Regions from separate parts of the Homo sapiens genome. Here regions 1, 3, 4 and 5 are each linked to region 2. Evidence: promoter capture Hi-C in 16 types of primary human blood cells and fetal thymus (Javierre and others, 2016). All regions are on one chromosome and are shown on one strand. Each heading gives the region's core, a stretch centred on a gene start or on the middle of the fragment in contact. The rest is flanking DNA. Distances are from core to core; before and after follow the strand shown.

The links. Contacts are between HindIII fragments. The CHiCAGO score rates a contact against its expected background, and 5 or more counts as called.
Region 1: a fragment that was not itself captured here is called in contact with the fragment with the promoter of AFF2 in region 2 in 1 of 17 cell types (naive CD4 T cells); the score reaches 6.2 in naive CD4 T cells.
Region 3: a contact is called between a fragment that was not itself captured here and the fragment with the promoter of AFF2 in region 2, in 1 of 17 cell types (neutrophils). The highest score is 6.5, in neutrophils.
Region 4: a fragment that was not itself captured here is called in contact with the fragment with the promoter of AFF2 in region 2 in 1 of 17 cell types (neutrophils); the score reaches 9.0 in neutrophils.
Region 5: a contact is called between a fragment that was not itself captured here and the fragment with the promoter of AFF2 in region 2, in 4 of 17 cell types (naive CD4 T cells, activated CD4 T cells, total B cells and 1 more). The highest score is 7.7, in naive CD4 T cells.

What each region holds. Positions count from the first base shown.
Region 1 is chrX:148,213,357-148,216,056 of GRCh38, reverse strand. No RefSeq gene overlaps it. Among named protein-coding and RNA genes, the nearest start is that of FMR1NB, 230 kb to the right of the region's middle. The HindIII fragment of the contact is 8,090 bases long and covers 1-2,700 here.
Region 2 is chrX:148,499,279-148,502,009 of GRCh38, reverse strand. It overlaps AFF2 (ALF transcription elongation factor 2), which reads right to left and starts at 1,393. Exons shown (of 21, transcript NM_002025.4): 1 at 866-1,393. The coding sequence starts at 912. RefSeq lists an enhancer at 1-733. The HindIII fragment of the contact is 5,176 bases long and covers 1-2,731 here.
Region 3 is chrX:148,827,454-148,830,153 of GRCh38, reverse strand. The region is part of intron 4 of AFF2 (ALF transcription elongation factor 2); the gene reads right to left. Among named protein-coding and RNA genes, the nearest start is that of AFF2, 330 kb to the right of the region's middle. The HindIII fragment of the contact is 990 bases long and covers 773-1,762 here.
Region 4 is chrX:148,809,750-148,812,449 of GRCh38, reverse strand. AFF2 (ALF transcription elongation factor 2) reads right to left here. Exons shown (of 21, transcript NM_002025.4): 4 at 2,530-2,574. Among named protein-coding and RNA genes, the nearest start is that of AFF2, 310 kb to the right of the region's middle. The HindIII fragment of the contact is 1,944 bases long and covers 377-2,320 here.
Region 5 is chrX:148,184,411-148,187,110 of GRCh38, reverse strand. No RefSeq gene overlaps it. Among named protein-coding and RNA genes, the nearest start is that of FMR1NB, 200 kb to the right of the region's middle. The HindIII fragment of the contact is 1,466 bases long and covers 557-2,022 here.

The DNA.
Region 1 (2,700 bases), core at 133-2,632, 290 kb after region 2:
CATGTATGTGTTCTATGTTGAGAGTGTGGTATAATGATTGTGAGGACAGACTCTGGAACCAGGTCAACATCATGCTAGCCTTGTGACCCAGGCAGGGCACTTTATTTTGCATCTTAGTGTTTCCATAGCTTTATCAGTGATGATTATAATAACACTTAATCATAAAGCTGTTGTGCGAATTACATGAGGGAATACATGTAAAACAATTGGAACTGTGCTTGGCTTGCAGTAAGTGCTAGATAAGTATTAGCTATTATTAATATAATCATGATTACTTCCGCAAGTCAAAGGAATTGCATATGATAGTACAGCCAAGTGCAGAACTCCATGATAGACCTCGCTCCATTGTTACACTGATCCATTAATCATCACGTAGTGGCTTCATCAGCCAGGAATTCACTTACCTGTACTTCTATTCAGTTTTCATTTCTCTGTCTTCAAGATGCCAGAGGAGAACATGACATCCCATTCTGCTCCCAGTAAACCCCAAGGTCTTCACTATGACTGAGCAACATTATGTGTCCCTTCCTCTCATCTCCTGCCATTGTTCTTTCCTCCTCTCTCCTTTCACTATCTTCCTGGCACGATCAGCTGTAGTCCTGCTGGCCTCCTTGCCACATTTCAAACACTAACATTTGTACTCTGGGACCTTTGCATTTGCTGTTCCTTCCATCTGGGATACTCTACCCAGATAGCCACATGACTTTCTCCCTTTCTTCCTTCAAGTCTCTGCTCATAGTCACTTTATTAGAGAGGCCTGCCCTGATTATCTTATATTAAATAATATCCCCCATCCCATCTCAGGCCCCACTGGCCAAGTATTCTCTAACCCCCAGCAATGACATCAGCAGATACATTATATTATTTACTTGATTGTTTTCTCTCTTTCCCACTAGAATGTCAGCTCCAAGAAACATGGGTTTTTAACTGTTTTGTCCACTGCTGTTTCCCCAGTGCCTAGAGAAGTGCCTGGCATGGAGTAGCAGATAGCAGCTATTTGACAAATATTTGTTGAATGAATAAATATCAAACACTGCAGAAAACCAGATGTATTACATCTATAACAATCTCCCGATCAAATGAGTCTAATAACAGACTTTGAAAACTCTTTTTAAATAGATGATTAAGGCATTAAGTTTAGTTTAGCATGACTTGCTCTCAGTGAACAAAAATTTTACACATAATAAAACATCTTTATTATTTTGTACAACAAAGTATATGAAGCCCTATTAAACACTACCCTGCTGCATTTGTAGATTTTGCTGCAGCCTCTGGCTCTGTCACAAGAAATCAGCTCTGGACAAATAGCCTTTCATCATCACTGATAGGCGTCTCTTAGTTCTGCTTCAACAGGTTCTCACCAGCACCCCAGATGAAATAAAGGTAGGAATTGCCAGTTCTTTGACCATGAGTGAAGCAAGGGCATACCTTAGTCCTGCTTCTATTCAACTTTTATCTTAATGACACACTTAATCTGGAAATCAGATTATAGGGCATTTCATTATCTCTGCACAAATTCTAAATTGCTGCTGTGTACAAGTAATAAACTAAGTTTTTGGCCTGCTATTATTATTCTGTTTATTTACTGTGTTGGCTGTCCCTAGTGACTTTTCTCCTTGTATACTTGTGTTCTCCTCCCATTCTCTGTCATTTTTAAAAAGTAAGGTAATCCTGGGCTCTGATCTGTCCTGCCGAGGTATTATTGGATAATGTTCCAGTTTGTTACTTGATAACAGAGTCCTAGAAATATTTGTAATAAATACTGCTGATAATCTTTGTTTACATTTTTAACATAAAATCAATAAAGTACAGTATAAGCAGTCATGAAACTTTTTCCTTTATAGTAAATATTTTATAAATACATGTCTTACTTTTGTTCTATAAAATCCAAGATAACAATCTAATATCAAAATTTCAAAAGCTATCTTGTGCAGTATTTTTCCTCCCTCAAGTGACCCTAGAAACATCTATCCCTGTGGTTGCCAATATTTTATTAAAACTTATAACCATTATAACCCTGGAATTTTTTCTTAATTTTTATGTAATTTTTTGTCCTCTTACAAGTTACCTTAATTCCTTTGTGAAATGAGGTATAATATAAATACATACAAAAATACTCACCCAGGAGCCCAAATATATATCTGCATAGAATAATTCACTTAAGGAATCATCATGAAATATTAATTATCCAAAAAAATTGATGATTGGGAGAGGGACAAATGACAATTTGATGGGCTCCATATTGTCAGTCAATTGATTGATACTGGGTATATAAATAGCTAGGTATTTATTTTAACTAAGCACTTTCCTGGAAATGACATGCTAAGATAGTAAAGGCCAAAGTTACTAAAGCCATAGGAGCCAGACTGAAGTTCTCTTGCACCAAAAGGGGCCAATTAATCGATCTTTCTCTAAAATTCTTCCATACTGTAATTCAGTGACCCAAATTCTATCTGCATAAAGGAATGGGGCTGCGATAATGAACAGAGTGCAAACCTGGAAACATTACAAAAGAGTTTTCTAAAAGCACTCTTATATTTACCCTCACCCTCACCTCTCCAGTACCTTGCAAACATTAATGTGGTCATTTTGGACTCACATCAGAATCTGTATTTGTGAGACCATAATAAAATACCTAAAGAAACTGTCATTTTTTCCCCCTGAGAACTAGATAACAAATTTATGTTGGGCTCAGCCTCA
Region 2 (2,731 bases), core at 144-2,643:
TTAACAACTTTCCAGGTCCCCAGTCACCTTTCTACCATCTTTCAAAATGTCTCAGCGACAAGTTTAGGGTATTTTGTGAAGAGCTGACTCAACCTTTGAATCTGAGCTGGAGGTCCCTTACAAAAAACTACGGCTGCCTCCCAGTGGGAGGCCGAAGGGGGTCCATCCGGTAATTAAATGTGCATTGACATCAGAGCTGCGGATTTGGGGGGCCAACTCCGAAAACCCTCAGTCTTGAAAGCCAAGCGCCGAAGTCGGCCTCGAACCAAGGTCCCCTGAGTGGTGGCCCCCAAAGCCGCTGCTCCACCCGGGAGTGCAGGGAACTTGGGCTGAGTCGGCAGAAGGAAAGGTGTGCGCGCCGCGCAGCGCAGGGATGGAGGTGGCGGCAGCGGGGGCGGTGGCCACCAAGGAAGCAGAGGGCTGCTGGCCGCACCTGGCCGTTGCCTTTCCCCCATGGCCCGCCGCGGGCGTTGGGCACCTGGAAAGTTGAGACATTTCGGGCGGGCGGCATCCGGGGCTCAAGGAGGCCAGACCGGCAAGCCGCTCCGAGAGAAAAGCTCCTGGGAGGTCGTGCGGTTCAGCCCTCGGGCGGCACCGAATTCGATGTGAGCCAAATGCAACTCTTTAGACTTGGAGCGCAAAGCGACGCTTTCGGGTCCGCATCCCTCCCTCTTCCCGCACCTCCCCCCACCCCGGCATCCGACCTAGGAGTCAGCGCGGCCGGGGCCAGAGGTGGCTGAGAGCAAGTGGGAGGGAGTCCGGGGCGCCCCCCACGACAGCTTCAGCTCCTCTTAACAAAGGCGAAAACCTCAGACTTCGCCAGGAGACTCGCTCATCAAAGGAGAAGGCAAAAATCAACACCTACCACTGCTGCTCCAAGTCCCAGTCTCTGAAAAAGTCGAATAGATCCATAGCGGCCAGGCGGCGGCGGCGGGCGGGCGCCTGTCCCTGATCGCAGCGGGTCGGCGCGGCTCTCGGCACAGCTCGCTGGCGGTTCTCGGCGGCCCCCGGCTCTCCAGCCCTCCCGCCCAGCTAAAAGTGTCCGGGCCGCATCGGCAGCAGCAGCGGGCGCTGGAGGTGTCTGGTCCTGTGCTCCGGCGAGGAAGCGGCGGCAGTGGCACTGGGCGGGCAAGCGCCTGGTCGCCCACTCGGGTCCGCTCGGTCCGCGGTAGCCCGCGCACCCAGCGACCCGACGCTGCGGCGGCAGCCGCTGCGGGCTCAGGCGGGCTGGGCCGCCCGCCTGGCTGGCTGCGGGCCGGCGGCGGCAGCGGCGGCGGGGGCGGCCGGGGCAGAGGCAGCGGCGCGGCGCGGCAGCCGGGGCGGCAGCGGCGGCGGCGGCGGCGGCGGCGGCGGCGGCGGCGGCGGCGGCGGCAGCGGCTGCACAGGCGGCGGCGGCGGCCGCGGCAGCATCACACACTTACACACTCACAGGGGGCGGAGCCTGGACAGCTAGAAGCCGCGACATGGAGCAGGCACGTTATCATCCCCGGATCTGGCAGGGGCTCGCCGCGCCCGCCCCTGCCTTTCGGGAACCCTCTCCCACCCCCCACTGTCAAAATCAGCTAGTGGGAGCGGCCACAGAGCTGAGGACCCGGACCCGGACCCGGGACGCAGGGGCCGTGGCAGGGATACAGGAGGTGGGCTGGCGGGACCAGGACGCGGGCTTCGGGAATGGGACCCCTCTCTGAAGCCCAGCCCACCCCCACCACTGGGAATTAGTTTTGAACTAGAAAAGACAGCACAAACAGCCGTGGGGTTGAAGGTCGCCCCCTGCCACCTCAAGCACAGCTCCTTGAGCCCCCGAGTAGTGGAGCAAACTTTGCGGGCCTGAGCATCCCTCAGGTCTGTAGTGCGTAGCACGCGGGTCCAGGAAGGAGAAGGCGGTCACCTTCACCAGCCCCGTGGCTCCACGTGCCCGCACCCAGGCCCTCCAGGCATGCCTTTAGGCGCGCACCTAGTAGGTCAGCGAGCTATAGGCCCTGGATTCAGTGGGCAGCAAGGATAGGAACAAATGACTGCCCTTGCGTGGTCCTTGAGTTCGGGGTTAGGATACTGTTAAACTGGGTTCCACTGTCACTTTCCTCGCACGGTCACCAGGTGCCTTGAGCAAAAGACTTCTGCTAGCTCCTCCTCTGAGAAATGGGAAAACCACTGGGTGTGTGCCCAGTATCCCACGCACCGGCTGCCCGTCTCCCTTCTGGCCTGAAATTCTCTTTCTGCACGTGGAGGGTTTAACCGAGCCTCCTACTCCCTTCAACCTCCACCTCTGATCCAGGAAGGAGTGGATCCCTTTAGCCAATTCCCTGGAGGGAAAGGTTCCCTGGCCTCCGTGCAGAGAAAGGTCTGTGGGAAGGGGCGGGACCGCTTTCTGGCATTTCAGGACATGAGCATTCTGGAGTCCTAGGCATGTAATTTGCCTTCTTCGTGTCGTTATACAGAGGGAATAGTATTGGCACATTTTTCAAATCCTAAGGCTAGAACTCTCTTGGGAAGGACAGCAGACTGAGCCCTGACAGAGCAGGGTGCCGGTAGCTCTGTGTGTGACTCCAAGCAAGTCACTTATCTGGGCCTCAGTTTCTCCATAAAACACCCAGCAGCCCTCTGGCTCATACTTCTCTGACATTCTCCCTTCTATTTGAATATGCTTCTACAGTATTATCTCATATTACCAAAATCATCCAAATACCTTTTAACTTCATTTTTTTCCTGAAGAAACAGAGACCCTAAGACA
Region 3 (2,700 bases), core at 18-2,517, 330 kb before region 2:
TTTTCCTCTCAGGGCCCTCTCAGAGTGCTCTCCTGGATGTCCCATCTCAGTGGGGGCATGGGAATACTGCAATACCTCTAAGGGACAGCTATCTGAATGGTAAGAGCTTGGAAAGCTCATCTCATGTATACATAGACATTAAAGAAACAGGGAAAGTTTAGTCCACAGAAAAGGGAGAGTGAGGAGTGTCTTTAAATCCATGAAAGTCTTTCACATGAAAGAGATTTGAGACCTGCTTTGTGGACCAAGAGTTTAGGACTGGCTGTATGGGTAAAGTTATCAGGGGACCAATTTTAGCTCAAACTACTAAAGAATTTCCAATCATTTGAGGTTTCCAATCATGGAGCCTACTGTCTTAGAAGGCAGTGAGCAGTTCATCTCTGAAGGCGAAATGTCCTCTGCCTAGAGCAGTGAAAAGGGATTCCTAAAAGGTGGCGGAGTGGGTGTTGTGAATCATCTGTACTGCTTTACCTAATCAGATAATCATACACTTTACTTCTGTAAAGTCAAAGATATATATGAGAAGATGCAAAACTGAATCTGGAGCAGTTGTTTTGCATGACATATAAACACGGCTGACTAAATTGACTAAGGAAATTTGTCATTCTCCCAGGGATGGGGTGGGGGAAACATGCTGAGGGGAGCCTATTGTCTCACAGTGAGACAGCTAACAGCCCAATTTGTCTGATTGTTTGCTGAACTCTTAGAAAATCTAACAACAGTGGAACCATAGACTTTCCTAGGCTTGATCACTAGCCATTCCTGCCAAGCTTTTCTAGTGGTCAAAACTCTGTTCCATTCAATTGAATGAATATTCTTCTATTTGGAATGCTGTTAAGACAGTCTCCTGAGATTGCTCCTCTGATTTCCATGCAAGTGCTCATAGAGAGGAAGTGTAAAATCAACGGTTACATTAAACATAACTTCTTGGCCATGGCATAACAATGGGTCAATGCAAAATGCAATTCTTTTAAAAGTTTCTAACACTAACTTATGATTTAAATGGCATGGTATAAAAACCCTGGCGATGTTTCTTCAAATAAATAATGGAATTCTGTATTCAAACTCTTTAGTGCTGGCAGTTGTTTAAGGGAATCTGGAAATATTCTCCTTCGGATCCAGGAGGAGAATCTGTACATGCAAAAAGTTCAGCTCACATTGGCTGCCTTCATCCTGGCAGCCCCCAAACCAGGGTTCCATTGAAAAAGAGCCCTAATTATAATGTACAATTGGGAAGTATAGTGATCAGTATTCTGAATCTCCACTGTGTACTCAATCAGGCAATCAATCAAGCCATCTTCTTGCCATTGCCAGATGCAATCAATTCCATTTCACCCACTGAATACAACAGGAACATATATGACCATGTGCAGGGCCTATTCATGCAACTTTTTTTGGCCCAGTTACTCCTCGGGCATTCTACATTCAAACACTGCAAAGAAAGGTCTCCAAAGGTAAATACAAGGGAACAGAACACTATAGTGATATACTGGGCAGAATTCAACCAGACCTTTTTAGTTCAGCAAAAGGTTTCAGCAGCAGCAACCTCAGGCCACGGCCCATCCAACTAATGGTATTTGATTCCCTAAACACGATTGCCTTGTAAATTTTAATCTTTATTAAGACCTTTGTCTTTGTCTAAATTAGGTTGAACCAGTCAGAATAGAAGACTGAACACCCCACTAGGAAATGTTATCAGATTGAACAACACTGAATTGTTTGCCTTGTTTGGTACAGGCAAAATTAACACAATATCAAAGCTTAGAAATGTAAGAACTGGCCACTGAGAAAGTGTTCTGCAAAGAGCAGTATCAAAAAGGGAATCAAGGTAGAGGGCTTTTTCTAAGTGGTCCAGTTCAGGTATGTGAGGATTCTGGGGTTTCTTCAGGGCCAGTTCTTAACATTTCTAACCCTTGAAATTGTTTCTTACATTCTTAAGCTAATTTTGACATCAGATCATTGTAACTCTTTTCAAAAGTGATTTTTAATTGCAATGTTGAATTTCCAGCTCTTCTGTTTCAAATTATTTTGCCGTCAACTACATCCAATGACCATCACTTAAAATATACTGATTTGAGATAATTCGCGAGGCTTTCATAATACTACAGCCATGTTTTTTTTTTCCTTTCACAGTCACTTCAAAAGATGGAATGACATGCTATATCCTCACAGCATGAGATGTTTCTTAATGGTTACCTTCCAATTTGCTCCTTTAGCACCAGCTCAGGCAAACCAACTTGATAAAACTCACACACTTTCATTGGCTTCTCCTCCAGCAGCATTTCTAATAATCTATATTTAATTTCATTCATTCAGAAAACATTTATTGAGTGTCTACTCCTTGCAAGGTATCTGACAGCCAGGAGGCTAGACTAGGTCCCGGTACAGGGTCTGGTGGTACTCTCTGTAGCTAGAGTATTGATAATTGGAATGAGAGTAAGGTAATAACAATTACCAGTTACCATTCGAAGTAGAAATAAAATAAGCCCATCAAAGTTGATTTTTTTTAGAGAATAATGCACAATTTGTTATATGTTTCAGAAATTGCCAAAGGGATTTGTTGATTTCACATTGTTGGAGAGATACGGTGTCAATGCAACAACACAGCAGTCCTTTAGAAAGCCAGCTTATGCTATAAGTGAAAGGTACTAGAGAATGACAACTCCAGGCAAAGGGGGGCAGAAGGATACATTTCACACA
Region 4 (2,700 bases), core at 99-2,598, 310 kb before region 2:
TAAGGGAATCTCATGAGCAACTGGAAGCCAGCTCCTCCACTCCGGGGCTAGTGCTCCTTCCTCTGCATAGCTCCCCTCAGTGAGGAGAGATGACATTGTTTGGGCCTCTGCTTAGTTTGAAAAGCAGCGAGCATGGCCAGGAGAGGTAGGGAGAAAGATAAAATGTACTTTTCCCTAAGAAAGGGGTTTATGGGGAATGAGGTGACAAATTTACTGCGGAACCCGTCACAGGCCTCTAAGGCCCTCAAACCAAAAGGAACATGAATGTGTAATTAAGACAAAAAGCCCAACAAGCATGCTCTATTGTGACATGCAAGGTGGTCTATAAAAATTTAACAATTAGTCATAAAATTGGGGACGCAAATTTCAGAAAGCTTATTTTTATTCGAAGCATGGGGAATGAAACATTCTTTCTTTAATAAAGGAAGGCCCACTCATTAACAGCGTTGTTGGAAAAAAAAAAAAAGAATTCTATACAATCTATAGCCCTTCAAAAAAAAGAGACATTTCTCTAGATTCTCTTTCAAGAATAACAGAAGGACTTTTGTTACTTTCTCAAAGCATGTTATCTTTTGTGAGCCTATTAAGGCAACCTGCTTCTTTTCTTTCCATGTGTAAGTGAAATTCTGTTGTTTCTCTAAGTGGCTCCTTTAGGAGACTGGTGTCGCCAGCCTCAGCCAGGTGTTCACCCTCCTTCCTGCATTTAGTCACATAACCACCTAGGCACCAGGGCTGGGTTGCTTTTAAGTATGTAATTTCGATTGTGACAAATTAGTGAGATTTTGAGATATGCCTGGCATTCCTTTGGGAGTTTATAAAAAGGCCACTGAGTTTATTTATGCTTGTGACTCGGAGAAGAAAGGAATAACAAGGTTACTATCTAGAGCAGAGTAAGACATTTCTTTCAATGTTATTACCTTCTGTTAAGGAAGGCTGTTGACAAGTGAGCAAGGACTGAATGTATTTTCCCAATGGGAAAGGCCTGAGTTCCCAGTGTGCATTCCTTTTGTGGTGCTCATAACAGCTGCCTCGTCTCCACCCAAAACGTCGGGCCCCTGAGACAGATGACTGAGGGGTTGCTGGGTTCTTATCTTACCAAAGTAGTCAGCATAGTCCTAATCTAGCAGTCCCCAACCTTTTTAACACCAGGCACTGGTTTCATGGAAGACAATTTTTCCGCAGATGAGGGGGTAGGGAGTGGGAGTAGGGGTGGGGAGTTGGTTTTGGATGAAACTGTTCCACCTGAGATCATCAAGGCATTACATTCTCACGAGGAACACATGGTACCAGTCCATTGACTTGGGATTGGGAACCCCTGCCCTAATCCATATAGTCTCATCGTTGATCAAAGTGATATGACTGGCTCATCTCTTTAATAGTCAAGAACAATGTTCTTGGGCTGAAACAGGTGCACGAATGTGTACATCAGGTATACTCCGGGTGGCAAGCCATTTCAATGGTAAACAGCTTTTGGCTCTTGACTATTCCTTTGGCTGCATTTGCTCAGGGCTTGCTTCAAACACTGGGCTGCTGAGAAGGCACTTACTGGGAGAGGGGGATCAGGAGGGAGTTGGAGTGACTTTGGTAACTGAGGAAAGGGGGTGCCAAATTTTCACTGGCACATAGATTATTTTCTTTCCCAGATAGAAAGCCTTCATGGTTTTTACATGACTACACTGGTCATCATTTATCACAATAGCCAGCATTTATATACCACTTGGTAGCCTATAAGGGAGTTAGGGCAGGTATTATTGTCCTCTTTTACAGACGAGGAAAGGAGATTCAGAGAGATAAAGTCATCTGTCCAAGGTCACAGAAGTGACAAATGGTAGAGCCAGGACAGGAGCTCAGGAGCTCATTACCATGACTCCTATTCTTGAGATTCCATACTGCCTTATGATGCCAATGGCCAGAGAGAGCAGACAGATATGTTTTTCTTGCTTAACTTTGGTTTCTTCTTTTGGTTTGATTGTTTACTTCAGAAGAGATTATAGCCATTCTTTCAACTTTGTTCTGCCCTCAAGGCATTCACACACATACACTCACTTCCATAAGTAACACTTTCCACAACATGCCATCATTTTCAAGTCTCTCATCTTCTCCTCCTCTCCCATTCCCACATCTCTTCCCCTTATTATAGGCCACAATCAATCTCGGTAACCATGTTCCACATAGTGGGCGGCAGCAGTGAGATTGAGCTGAGATCCCAGAAAGGTAAAAGGCAAAGGTTTAGGGTATGGTGCTTGAACAGGGAACGTTTCCTAAAGAAGGTGGTAAGTCTCTGTCTGAGAAGGATGTAGGAATGGATAGGGCAGAAGCTTAGTGATATTAGAAGACTAGCTTGATTACAAAATGGAAAGAAGACAGGCAAGAAATGAGGCCACTGGAATAAGCAGAAGGGTCTTGAAGTAGAATATCAGGATTCCCCATCATGAAACTCCTTGAAACAGAACAGTAATTACTTTAAACAGCTTAAGCAGATAGATTGCTTCATTATTAAAAGGCACAAAAATAAAGGTTTAAACTCACCCGCAAGATTTCTTCAACACAGCTTGGATCACTGGGAAGGCTTACCTGAAACAAAATAAACAGAAAACATTAGGCACAATCTACTTCTTCTTCTTGTATAATAGTTTACTCTGTAGGACAAACTGTAAAGCAAGAAAATCTAGCTATCATTTTTTTCCTATTAAATACAAA
Region 5 (2,700 bases), core at 40-2,539, 310 kb after region 2:
TCTGCTAGTAGTAACTGGTAGTATTAATAGGAGCTAGGAGTAGAGCTGGAATTCCAACCCAGGTCTCTGTGACCTCAATGCTTGTGCACTCACTACTCTACTCTTTTCCTCTTCCCCACCATCACCCACGTCCCTTTATGCTGTTTCCATCCTATAATTTCTGCGCTTTTGTGGGATATATCCTGCTTTGGTTACTTCTAATCTGCCTGATAATTAGGATTGATAGATTGAATGCTCAGTACCATGAGGAAATAATACACTGGGATGCAACAGAATGCCCAGTTTTGATTTCTGTTTATGTTAGTGTTATCAATGGAAAAGAGTGAGAGAGGGAAAATACACATGTTAAGCTAGCAATCACAAAAATCAAGCATATACGCCAAAGTCCTCTAGGTTATTTTACATGACAAGCTATGGTATTAGTAATTCTTCATGAATGTATCTGTAATCTAGGTGCATAAACATTTGGGGGAAATGAAAATGACTGATGTGAACTTTTAAACACCATCCCATATTTAAGACACTACCATGGTCTGTATTATACAACAAGAAAGCTTTCTAACCTCAGCCCTGCCTCTGTTCCTAAATCTCCAAAAACTCTTTCTGTGTTTCTATGTGGCATAGGTAGCTGTATTTCCCTTATGTCTCATATACCTAACCTGTAGTGTAGTTTGAAACACACAAAGGTGTAATAACACTATTCTGGAGTCAAGCCATGCACTGCAGCCCAGACATGAAAGAGAACACTGGATAATAAATGACTCGTTGTGGTCCATCTTGTCTTTGGTTGAAAATAATCCTTCAATAAAGAAATAACAGGTGATACATGAGACACACACTTAACTAGGATTAAAATCTCTGTTTCCAGCAGATAAATTCTTAAAATGTTGTCGATAATCAGAGATAGAGTTAGCTGGTTGTTTCCTAAATGTCATCTTTAATAATAGAGCATCATAAGCTAGCATCATGTGTCTTTTGGTTTTCACATAATTTAGAATAAAGTTTGGAGCTGCAGAAAACTGACATCAGGGGATGACATGGGAAATACTGATTATTTTTCTGGCCAAGGAGTAATTTTGCTCCTGATTTTCTGTATTCCCATTCCAAAGTTGGAATGAATAAAGAAACAGAAAGAAAAGCCTTAATTGACAATATAATGCCCACAAGCATCAACAGATGTGATCCCTTGTAATGAAGCATGTGGGTCTAATTTGGCATCACTAACCACTTGGAGGATCTCCTTGCTGAGTTCTTGCAGGCTAGCCTTCTAAACCTATGTTTGGCTGGCACCTGTGCCCTGTTGAAACTGGCATACCACTCTATGGGTGGGCACAGTGCCACCCTAACAGATGGCCATAAGAGTCATCATGCCAGAGAACTACTATTGTTTATAGCAAGTTTAGCTTAACAGCAATTGGCACCTGCTAAAGAATGACAAAATGGTGGCCTACCTTTGTGAAAGATAAACTATGACCTAAAATGGGCATGTCTGAAATTGGTATTTCGGAGTCATTTCACATACTCAATGAAGACCTCTAAGAGAGGAAGTGGCACTGCAACAATGTTGTATCTGTACTAAGGTGCTAGCAAAAGGAGGTAACAACACTTTTCAAGGTTCTACAATAAATTCAACATCCTAGTCTCCTAGAGCCAATAAATAATTCAAATTCAACATCATTAGAAGTAAAAATTTAAAACATCAACCCTTGAATGAACTTTCTGCTTGGTCACCTACCTAAAGCTACTCTCATTGATAAGACTCACTTGTTTCATTATCAATGCCTAAGTGATTTGTGAACATTTTTTGAGGGAGAACATTTAATTTTAAAACTCACATATTTATAAATAATGGTTGAAAATGTCAGATATAACTAGACCCCCAAACTGGGAGGGAAACCATGATTATAGGATGGAGTATACAGAGGTTAGTAGTAGCTGAAGGACACAATGTCTAACCCCAATTAACACTAAAATTTGTGTAGGCCTGTTTAGAGTCATCTAAAGGGAAAATAAAAGGAAGCTTAACTTTTATGAGCACCTACTTTGTGTCAAGGACTGTGGGATATACTTTGCATCCAGTTCTTAACTTTTCACAATTCTGTATACATATATTTCAGATTCCACAGTTTATTTAAAGAACACTAGCTCCCCAAGAGCACAGTTCAGATTTCAGTTCTCACTGTATACTGTGAATAACTGCATTAAGTACAAACCTCACTGCTGGCTCTTCAGTCTACAAATCTACTATGTAATAACAATGTGCATCATGACTAGTGATCTATTTCATCACTTCTTTCAATGTCTGCCAGTGATTGGTCACTAATCATCTGTTATTCAGTTCATACACATATGGCAAGATGTGTAACTGTGTTGTCCCCTTGTCTCTCAGTGACACATCCATGACATTTTATGAAATAGATATATATCTATAAAAGTTATATTTTTTTCAGTATGTGACACAGCCTCTTAAATTAGAGTATTTCATTAAATACAATCAATAATTACAGCCTAGTATATGTGGTAATTTAGTATATGATAAAAATCACTTGGGAAAAGACAAAATAGTGTTTAATATATGATATCTGATCAACAAGATGGCAATTTTGAGAAAAATCAAGATTAGAAATATTTAATTCCAACTAACACTATTTTGTGTATGGCGTGAAATAAATGAATGATAACTGAAACAGGGAATTGGCC